Regions from separate parts of the Homo sapiens genome. Here regions 1 and 2 are each linked to region 3. The links are contacts of gene promoters, found by promoter capture Hi-C in blood cells and fetal thymus (Javierre and others, 2016). All regions are on one chromosome and are shown on one strand. Each heading gives the region's core, a stretch centred on a gene start or on the middle of the fragment in contact. The rest is flanking DNA. Distances are from core to core; before and after follow the strand shown.

The links. The method cuts DNA at HindIII sites, captures the fragments that hold promoters and counts their contacts. A CHiCAGO score of 5 or more calls a contact.
Region 1: a fragment that was not itself captured here is called in contact with the fragment with the promoter of TM7SF3 in region 3 in 3 of 17 cell types (naive CD8 T cells, total CD8 T cells and non-activated CD4 T cells); the score reaches 9.6 in naive CD8 T cells.
Region 2: a fragment that was not itself captured here is called in contact with the fragment with the promoter of TM7SF3 in region 3 in 2 of 17 cell types (fetal thymus and non-activated CD4 T cells); the score reaches 9.5 in fetal thymus.

Annotation. Positions count from the first base shown.
Region 1 is chr12:25,185,738-25,188,453 of GRCh38, reverse strand. All of the region lies in intron 2 of DNAI7 (dynein axonemal intermediate chain 7), which reads left to right. Among named protein-coding and RNA genes, the nearest start is that of DNAI7, 8.1 kb to the left of the region's middle. The HindIII fragment of the contact is 772 bases long and covers 962-1,733 here.
Region 2 is chr12:25,050,409-25,053,155 of GRCh38, reverse strand. It overlaps IRAG2 (inositol 1,4,5-triphosphate receptor associated 2), which reads right to left and starts at 450. Exons shown (of 22, transcript NM_001366544.2): 1 at 200-450. RefSeq lists enhancers at 576-945, 986-1,095. The HindIII fragment of the contact is 399 bases long and covers 1,107-1,505 here.
Region 3 is chr12:27,012,971-27,015,889 of GRCh38, reverse strand. TM7SF3 (transmembrane 7 superfamily member 3) reads left to right here and starts at 1,506. Exons shown (of 12, transcript NM_016551.3): 1 at 1,506-1,812. The coding sequence starts at 1,722. RefSeq lists a silencer at 1,314-1,813. The HindIII fragment of the contact is 5,016 bases long and covers 1-2,497 here.

The sequences.
Region 1 (2,716 bases), core at 98-2,597, 1.8 Mb after region 3:
TTTTCTTAAGGGAAAATTAATGAACACACATGGTACAAAATTAAAATAGCATTAAAAAATTGAAACTTTTCTTCAACCCAAGACATTTGATCTGCCTTCCTAGAACCACTGTACATCTTTTCATAAATTTTCTAAACATTAAAGGGCGCACATATGTACACACACAGAGACCCCTTTTCTCCCTGCCTATGGGAGCATTCTGCACCTTCTGTTTTTCACTTAACAATATTTTATTAATTATAGGATACTAATCTTTTTACATTTTAACATTACTGAAATTGAGATGTGTCTTATAATAGTATCTTACAATCATTGTAGTCCTGGATTGACATCCACTTCTTCAACAGAAGATGTTTGCTTCTATCTGTCAGTTGGGCTTATTACCAGTCTGGTACTACTTAAATTCTATGCTTGAGGGTTTTGGACCACACCAATGGTATGAGTCAGACTGCAAATCCACATGAACCGGCTTGTGGTTTAAATTCTCAGGAATTTTTTTTCTTCCTTCTACCAGTGTCAGAGTTGACATATGCAAGCCTTCTTTTTTTTTTGCTCTGCATTACTGTGTTGTGGGATTGTTTGTCTTTCCCTATATCCAGTTTTATACAGGTATCGCCTTTAACTGCCATCTTAGGCATTATTTCCTTTTTTGGGACATAATAAATACATCTTACATCTGATGACATCTTAGGTTCAATGGAGTAAGTATACCTTGGGGACCTTTTTGTTTTGGCGTATTGAAATTACCTCACTCTTTTTCATGGCTGCATCATATCTCATTGAAAGTATGCTACATGATTTTTATGTTGGCCCTATTTTTTGCTATCACAATCAAGGCAGGAATGAAGATCCTTATATATAAGTTCTTGCAAACATGGAAGAATATTTATTTCATTGATTTAGCAGTGTTCAAGGCATTAAGTGAACAGCAGCAAGACCAAGTTCCTGCCTTCATGAAGCTTACATTCAACTTGAGGGTGGGAAGTGAGACAGGAATATAAATAATATAATTTCAGGTAGCTTTTAATACATAGAAACTAAGAGGTCATGAAAAAATGTGGGGTAGGGCTGATGATGATGCTATTTCATATAATATGATTAAGGAAGTAAAATTTAAGAAGAGACCTGGATGAAGCAAGGGAGTAGGTTAGTAATTACCTGGGGGAATGAGTATATTAAGCAGGAGAAACAGACATAGTTTAGAATGACCTTGGTGAAATGCCAGTGTGGTTAGAACAGACAGTGAGGTAGAAAGTGAAAGATAAAAACACGGCATGGAGACCGTGGTTAATCAGGAGCCGGTTTGTAGTTCATGGCCAAGTAAGCCATGGTAAAGTATTTGGGTTTTATTGTGAGTGTGATGGGCAGCCTGGGAAAGTTGTAAACAGAAAAGTGGCATGATCTGATTTACATTTTTAAAAGATCACTTTGATTGCCATGTGGAAAATTCACTGTAGGGGGACACAAGGGTAAAAGTAGGGGTACCCTTTAGGAATCCATCACAGCAGTGTAGGTTAGAAGTCTTCAAACTGAGAAGTAAATCATACTCTGACAGGTGTACAAAGGTTTTCTAAGGATACAAGGACACAGTCTTATGGAAATCAATCTTCAGATGATTGACTTCCATATTTACCTTTTCCTGAGAAAATGTAGTCATACATTAAAAAAAAAACCCTGCCTTTTTACCATTGCATCCTCCTCTGTCACAATCACCCTTCTTACAAAGTAAAGCTTATCTGTTATCTACTCCCATTCTGTGATTCTTTGCCCTTGGGACTGGGATGTGAAACCTTTAGACAATTCGAAACATTGATGTTGGCAAAGCTAACATCAGACACTAAGGACTTCCTGTTTTTGTCTGCCTTACCTGTCTTTTTGGAAGTGGTGAAATGTGTCATTAGAAGTACTGAGATATTGTGAATTTATACACATGGTAGTGTGAAGTGGTGATCATTTTTGTTTAGTTACATTGCCCATGAGATTATTATCAAATTATGGTACCAAAGAGTGTATCAAGTTACATTGTGAGAGATTTTTTTGGTACTATCATTTGATAATAATGTTTTGGTACCAGACTACAAAGATAATGTAATTAATTTTTTAATGAAGAAAGATTAGTGTATTAGTAAAAATGTGAGTGTAATATTTTTACGCAGATTTCAAAGTTGCCTTTTGAAACTTCACGTAATTTAAATTAATATTGTTCATTGCAAAAGTTAGAAAATTGCGTAAGACTATAGAAAAGGTTATGATACCTGATGTACTGTTAAAAAACCCATCACTACATTTATATTAATATATTTTTATCAGAAACCACTGTACTTCACAGAATACATGAAATACAGAAAACAGTGATTAGACTATGAGAAGAATTGCCTTACAAATTGATGAATATATAGATGATTCCAGTTAGTCTCAGTTAATAATTTATGACTTTTCTTCCAATGAAGAAAATGGCATTATTAATACAAATTTGATGTTCAAATTACTGTTTAGGAATACAACTGTGAAGAGATTTTACAAAACTTTTAATACTTTATTTGAATTGATTGTATTTTATTTGATTGAAATCATGCTCAACTACCCCCAGGAATGGGACTGTAATGAATGGGCAAAAGGGGGGTGCTTATTGCTATAGTCTGTACTTTAAATTCTATTTTCATTTAGGAACACTGTCATCACAAACAGGCTTCAGTGGCCAAAGAGTGAGTCCTGG
Region 2 (2,747 bases), core at 57-2,556, 2.0 Mb after region 3:
GTTAATGGTTAAACCCATGCATGCACCTAGCCACTCAGCAAACCTCTCTGAAAGCCCCACAATATTGCCTTCTCAAACCATTTCATTGTCATAAACTCAGGAATAATATCCTAGCTGTAATCTAGAAAAATGTCTGTAGTCCTATGCCCCGCCTGAGGGTGGACAAAAACTGGGTCATAAATGAATATTTGCTACTCACTCTTCAGTTTCCTTGTCTTCTGCTGAAGTGCCTGGCAAGTGTTCGATAATTCAGTATTTATAGTTTGAAGGTTCCGTTGTTCCGAAATTGCTTCCTCTAATTTATGCAGTAAAGACGTAGCTTTTTCACTGGCAGTGTGGGCTTCTCGATCTCGATCCTTACCCTGGACATGGATAGTTAGTGCTGGATTGTAGCAGTGTGGCCAGGAAAGAAAGCAATGGAGTGCTCACTCTTATGATGCAGGCAAAACTGAAAATGTGTTTTTCTTCTCAGGGAAGTGATAAGCCTCTCCTGAACTTCTGCAATTCTGTGTTTGCATGGGCTTGGTATGCCTGAGCTATTTCTACAGCGGTTAAAGTCCTGATATGTCAAGTTGCCTCTTTCTGCAGAGTCGCCTCTTTCATCAGCAGGCTGTTGATACCGCCTCTCTTACAACTCCCCCTTTACTTCCTCTGCTCACTGTTAGTCGCTAGGGACTGAACTTGCAGTTCCTCTTTGCTTTTTTTTTTTGTTTGTTGTTGTTGTTCCTCCTCCATTTTTATTTCATGGTTTGCAGGGCATCTGAGGAGATGTCCCCTGAATCTAATGTAGCCATGAGCCACCCTACCTGCTCCTCCACATCCTCCAGCCGTTGGCTGGTTTCTTGGAGCCTCTTCCTAAGGATGCCTTCCTGGTTGACAGCATCTTCCTGTAGTTGTTTAATGGCTTCTAGTTGTTTCTGACTGGAGTTAAAAAAAAAAAAAAAAAAAAAAGTCCAAACCGCAAGCTGTCAGTGACATTTCAACTAAGAGTCACCCTGTGAAATTATGACAAACTCAAACTTAACACCACTTCCTTAGAGATCAGAGGAAAAAGTGAAAGTATTTACATATAAATGCTTCACAAATATAAAATCTTAAGCAAAGCTTATTGGTCGCTTAGCCTGACACCCTCACTTTACAGATAAGGACTTCTAGTTTCATCTTTTACACTGGTGTGTTCAGTTCCCACCAGCTGCATTCATAGCACTTAGCATCAGTTGCCAGTTGCCAGTTACTCAGAAGATGGCTCTACAATGAGGTCAGGGTGACAGGTGCAACATTTACACATCACAGCTAGCTTTTACAGAAAAAGAAAGGAATGGGGTAAAGGTAGGGGGAGGGAAAAGAAAAGGAAAGAGAGCTTTGTTTCATGACCTTAGCCTTTCTCCTTAAGGGTTGTCAATCATAGTATAAACACGTGCCACGAGCACAGGAAGGACCGCCCCCAGGCACAGATGAAAGCTGGCGGTTGATATTTCTACTTTAGTCCTCTTTTTGCTGAAGCTTTTCTCCCCATCACCCTTCCCCACCACAGATCTCATGGTGCCATTACGTTACACCTCATTTGGATCCAATTCTAATCTCTAAAACATGTAAAAATGCACTTACTCTCTGTTAGCAGATGAGATTATTTAATGTGTGTTACATGCCAGTACCTCAATGATTATCTGGAAACAATCTGACTTGAATATGGACCTTAACTCAAAGTGGTGATAAATGTCGGGAGTTGCAAAACAGCAAGGAAGACATTGTCAGCCGTAGGCCTTGTGCATGCCTCTCAAACGTTAACATTTAGTCAGAATGCCACTGCACACTGGCACAAATCCAGCCCTGGTTACACGAAGGACCACATGAGAGGCAAGAATGGTCTCACAGAATGCTTACCATACTGGTAAACAAGCAAACAAAATCCTAAGCAAAAATAAAAACTGCCTACATCACCACACTTTCCACTGAGCGTCCTTCAATAGCTTATCGTTGTCTCTCTCACTCTCTTTTTCTCTCTTTTTCTTTAACTGTGGCAGGAACATTTAACAGGAGATTTACCCACTTAACAAATTTTTAAGTGTACAATACAGTATTATTAACTACAGGCATAATGTTGTACAGCAGATCTCTAGAACATCTTCATCTTGCATAACTGAAACTTTATACCTATTGAGTAGCAACTCCTCATTTCCCCTCCCCTAGCTCCTGGCAACCACTATTCTCTCTCTTTCTATTAGTTTAACTATTTTAGATACCTCAGAGAAGTGGGATCGTGCAGTATTTGTTGTTCTGTGACTCACTTATTTTACTTGGGATAGTGTCCTCCAGGTTTATCTATGTTGTCATATGTGGCAGAATTTCCTTCTTTTTAAAGGTTGGATAATATTCCCTTGTATTTATATACCAAATTTTCTTTATCCAATCATCCGTGGACATTCAGGTTGTTTCCAAATCTTGGCTATTGAGAATAATGCCGCAGTGAATATGGGAATGCAAATAGCTCTTCCAGGTGCTGATTTTAATTATTTTGGATAAATACCCAGAAGTGGGGTTCCTAGATCAGATGGTAGTTTAATTTTTAATATTTTGAGAAAACTCTGTAACTGTTTTTTTTTGTTTGTTTGTTTGTTTGTTTTTTTTGAGACGGAGTCTCGCTCTGTCTCCAGGCTGGAGTGCACTGGCGCGATCTCAGCTCACTGCAACCTTTGGCTCCCGGGTTGAAGCGATTCCCCTGCCTCAGCCTCCCGGGTAGCTGGGAC
Region 3 (2,919 bases), core at 257-2,756:
GCGCCCTCTTCTGCTAGCTCTTTTATGGTTTTATTACTTTGGGATTTTGTTTTCACAATTAGTGTGAGATAGAGTTCTGCTTCTCTCTGCCCATAGTGCAGCTAATCAGTTAAGAACACAATTTATTGAATAATCCATCCACTGATTCAGATGCTACCCTTATCATAATTGTCCCTTTCATCTTCCTTGGATTTCATCTACTGAGGGTTATAGGAATAGGGGCATGTGGGAGAGTGAATAAGCACTACAGAAATAGATAGTGCTACCAAAGGTGTGAAAATTTGGACCAGGCAGTGGGAAAGCAGAGAAAGAATTGTGCCTATGACAAAGATTATTTGCTTGGCCAAACTCTAGTACGGCTTCTGAATCTTCTGCTAGGTCCATCTGTGCACTTCTTTGTAAAAATCCAGTTTTAGCAAAGAACCCCCTTTCCTCCATATCTAATCAGTTTTCTCACCCTGCACCATCCCCCAGGTGATGTTATGTCTTCAGAAGTCCTGTTAGGTCAGTTTCACCAAATGCCCCTTACCTCTGATGCTTCCTCTTAGTAATTTTCCATCCACTGAACTCCATACTGCTGGTTGGCTATAAATTCCCTCTTGCCCACGCTGTATTCGGAGTTGAGCCCAGTCCCTCTTCCCCACTGCAAGACCCAGTTGCAGTGGTCCCTATGCCAATTGAGACAGTCCTCAATAGTCTTCGTTCGGTGCTTTAACAAGTATCATTGAATAATTTTGTCTTTAACACTTCTTCACATTATGGTCACAGCTATATATTGTTAGCTTAGTAGTGGACTAACTGAACATGTAATTTCCAAGCTATAAGTTGCTCATCAAAATATATAAGTGAAAAAAATTAAAACCAGGGAAGGAAAGCAAGACAATCCTCCCCAAATAACGTTAAGTCTATGCGTCTAATTCCACATCATCGATGAGCCATCTGTCACATGGACTACTGTCCCTCAAACAGCACTCAGGTATGAGACTTGAGACGAAGTTCAGACCAAGGCCGTGTCTTCGAGGATATTTCGCTTAGAGAAAACGAAACTACTTTTAAATGTAGTGCTTATGACTAGTGCGGTAACCACTACACAAACAGCATTCTCCTGGCATTTTTATGCTAACATAAGCCTCAGCAGCGAAGACAATTGCTACCGGGGGAAATAACCTTCAATTGTGTTTTTAGCAACTGATTCCTCTTTTTTGCTGTTGTAAAGGGCCGTTAAACACGGAAACAGGAGCCTGGCGACGTTAGTCCGCAACAGAAAGTTATTTTGTACTTTCACAGTGGGTTTGCCTACTTGGTGAGATAAAAGTGGGGCAAGACCGGGCCTCAAGCCAGGACTTCCTGGGGGCTCCCGGGAGCACCGCAGGCTGCGCGTTCCCCGCGCGCCGGCAGGAGGCGCGCGCTGCCTGGAAACGCCCCAGCGCCGCCCGCGCCCAGAGACCCGCCGCTGTGACGCAGCGAGAGCCCGGGAGGAGGCGCGGGAACGCGCGTTGGGGGTCAGGTGCCGGAAGAGGAAACCTCTCGCTGGGGCTAGGAGTTCGGCGGGGCGCGCGCCGGCGGCTGCGGAGCTGGCAGGTGCGAAGCGTCTGCACCTGGCGGGCGATGGCGCCCGATGCGGGCGCCCCGGGATAGCGTGGGCGAGGCTGCGGGGCCCCGGCGCGCACGCCCGCACCTCTCCCCAGCCCTGGCGTGGGCCCAGCCCGGCCCAGGCAGCAATGGGGTTCCTGCAGCTGCTGGTCGTAGCGGTGCTGGCATCCGAACACCGGGTGGCTGGTGCAGCCGAGGTCTTCGGGAATTCCAGCGAGGGTAAGGTCGGGGCGCCTGGCTTCTGCAACCCAAAGTTGCTTTTGCATTTCTTGCGAGGTCAAAATCCGCCAGGGGTCTGTCAGCCTAGCAGGGAGATGGTGCTGGGGGCGTTGGTACACGCTGGGTGGTGAGTCCAGAACCGGCACGAATGGTGTTTCCTGCAGCGGAAACACTCATGGCTAAGGAGGTCTTACTATTAACCTCCTCATTTAGCGGAGGAAATGGGAAGAGATAAATAATTCTCTTTTTTTAACACAGTATTATCTCCCTTAGGGAGCAGCCATGTTTGTGGCTTTAATTCAACTTACTAAAGCGCCTCTTTGCTGCCCAGTGGACTGTCTGAGCTTCTGGACAGCAAGACTTGGGGTGGAACTAGCGGCTTAATGACTGATGGCTCTCAAGCTGCATGGAATTTTTACACCCCCAAATCTAGAGGCTTTTCAAACTGGTTATGTTCTACAGAGTTTGAGAGGGAAAATGAACCCATAATGAGGCTTTATTTTTAAAGAGCCTTTACCATCTAATTTATTAATACCATCTGGAGACAGGAAAACATTCCATACTCACAATGAGAAATAAAGGACTTTCTGAATTACAGATACATAGACATACAGATAGAATGTGTATACCCTCAATTCTACAAGTTCAGCCACAAATGAAAAATAAACACAGAAACACAAAAGCTTGCCAGTCCAGGTATCAGAGTTGTTCTCCTTACTTGAGGGCAAGAAATTTCTAATCGATTTGACCTTAAAAAAGACAAATGGACAAAAACTGTGTTCTCTGTTGTCTCATATCCAACAGGAAATAGATCTCTATGAGATATTAATTCGTTTACAGAGATCACAAAATTCCCAATCATTGCAGCTACCAACAGGAAATAACTTGTCATCCATAAATGAACTGTAAAAAATAACAATTTAATAGAGAGTAAAACTAAAATGAGAAAAACAAGAATCAACGAAGTTCTATTGCCACTTCAAATTCACCTGTGGGAGCCAAGAAGCAACATGCCCGGGCTTGGCTCCCTATGAGTACACCATTTTTGATGATTTCAGGTGACTTTTTTTTTTTTTTTTTTTGACGGAGTCTCGCTCTGTCGCCTAG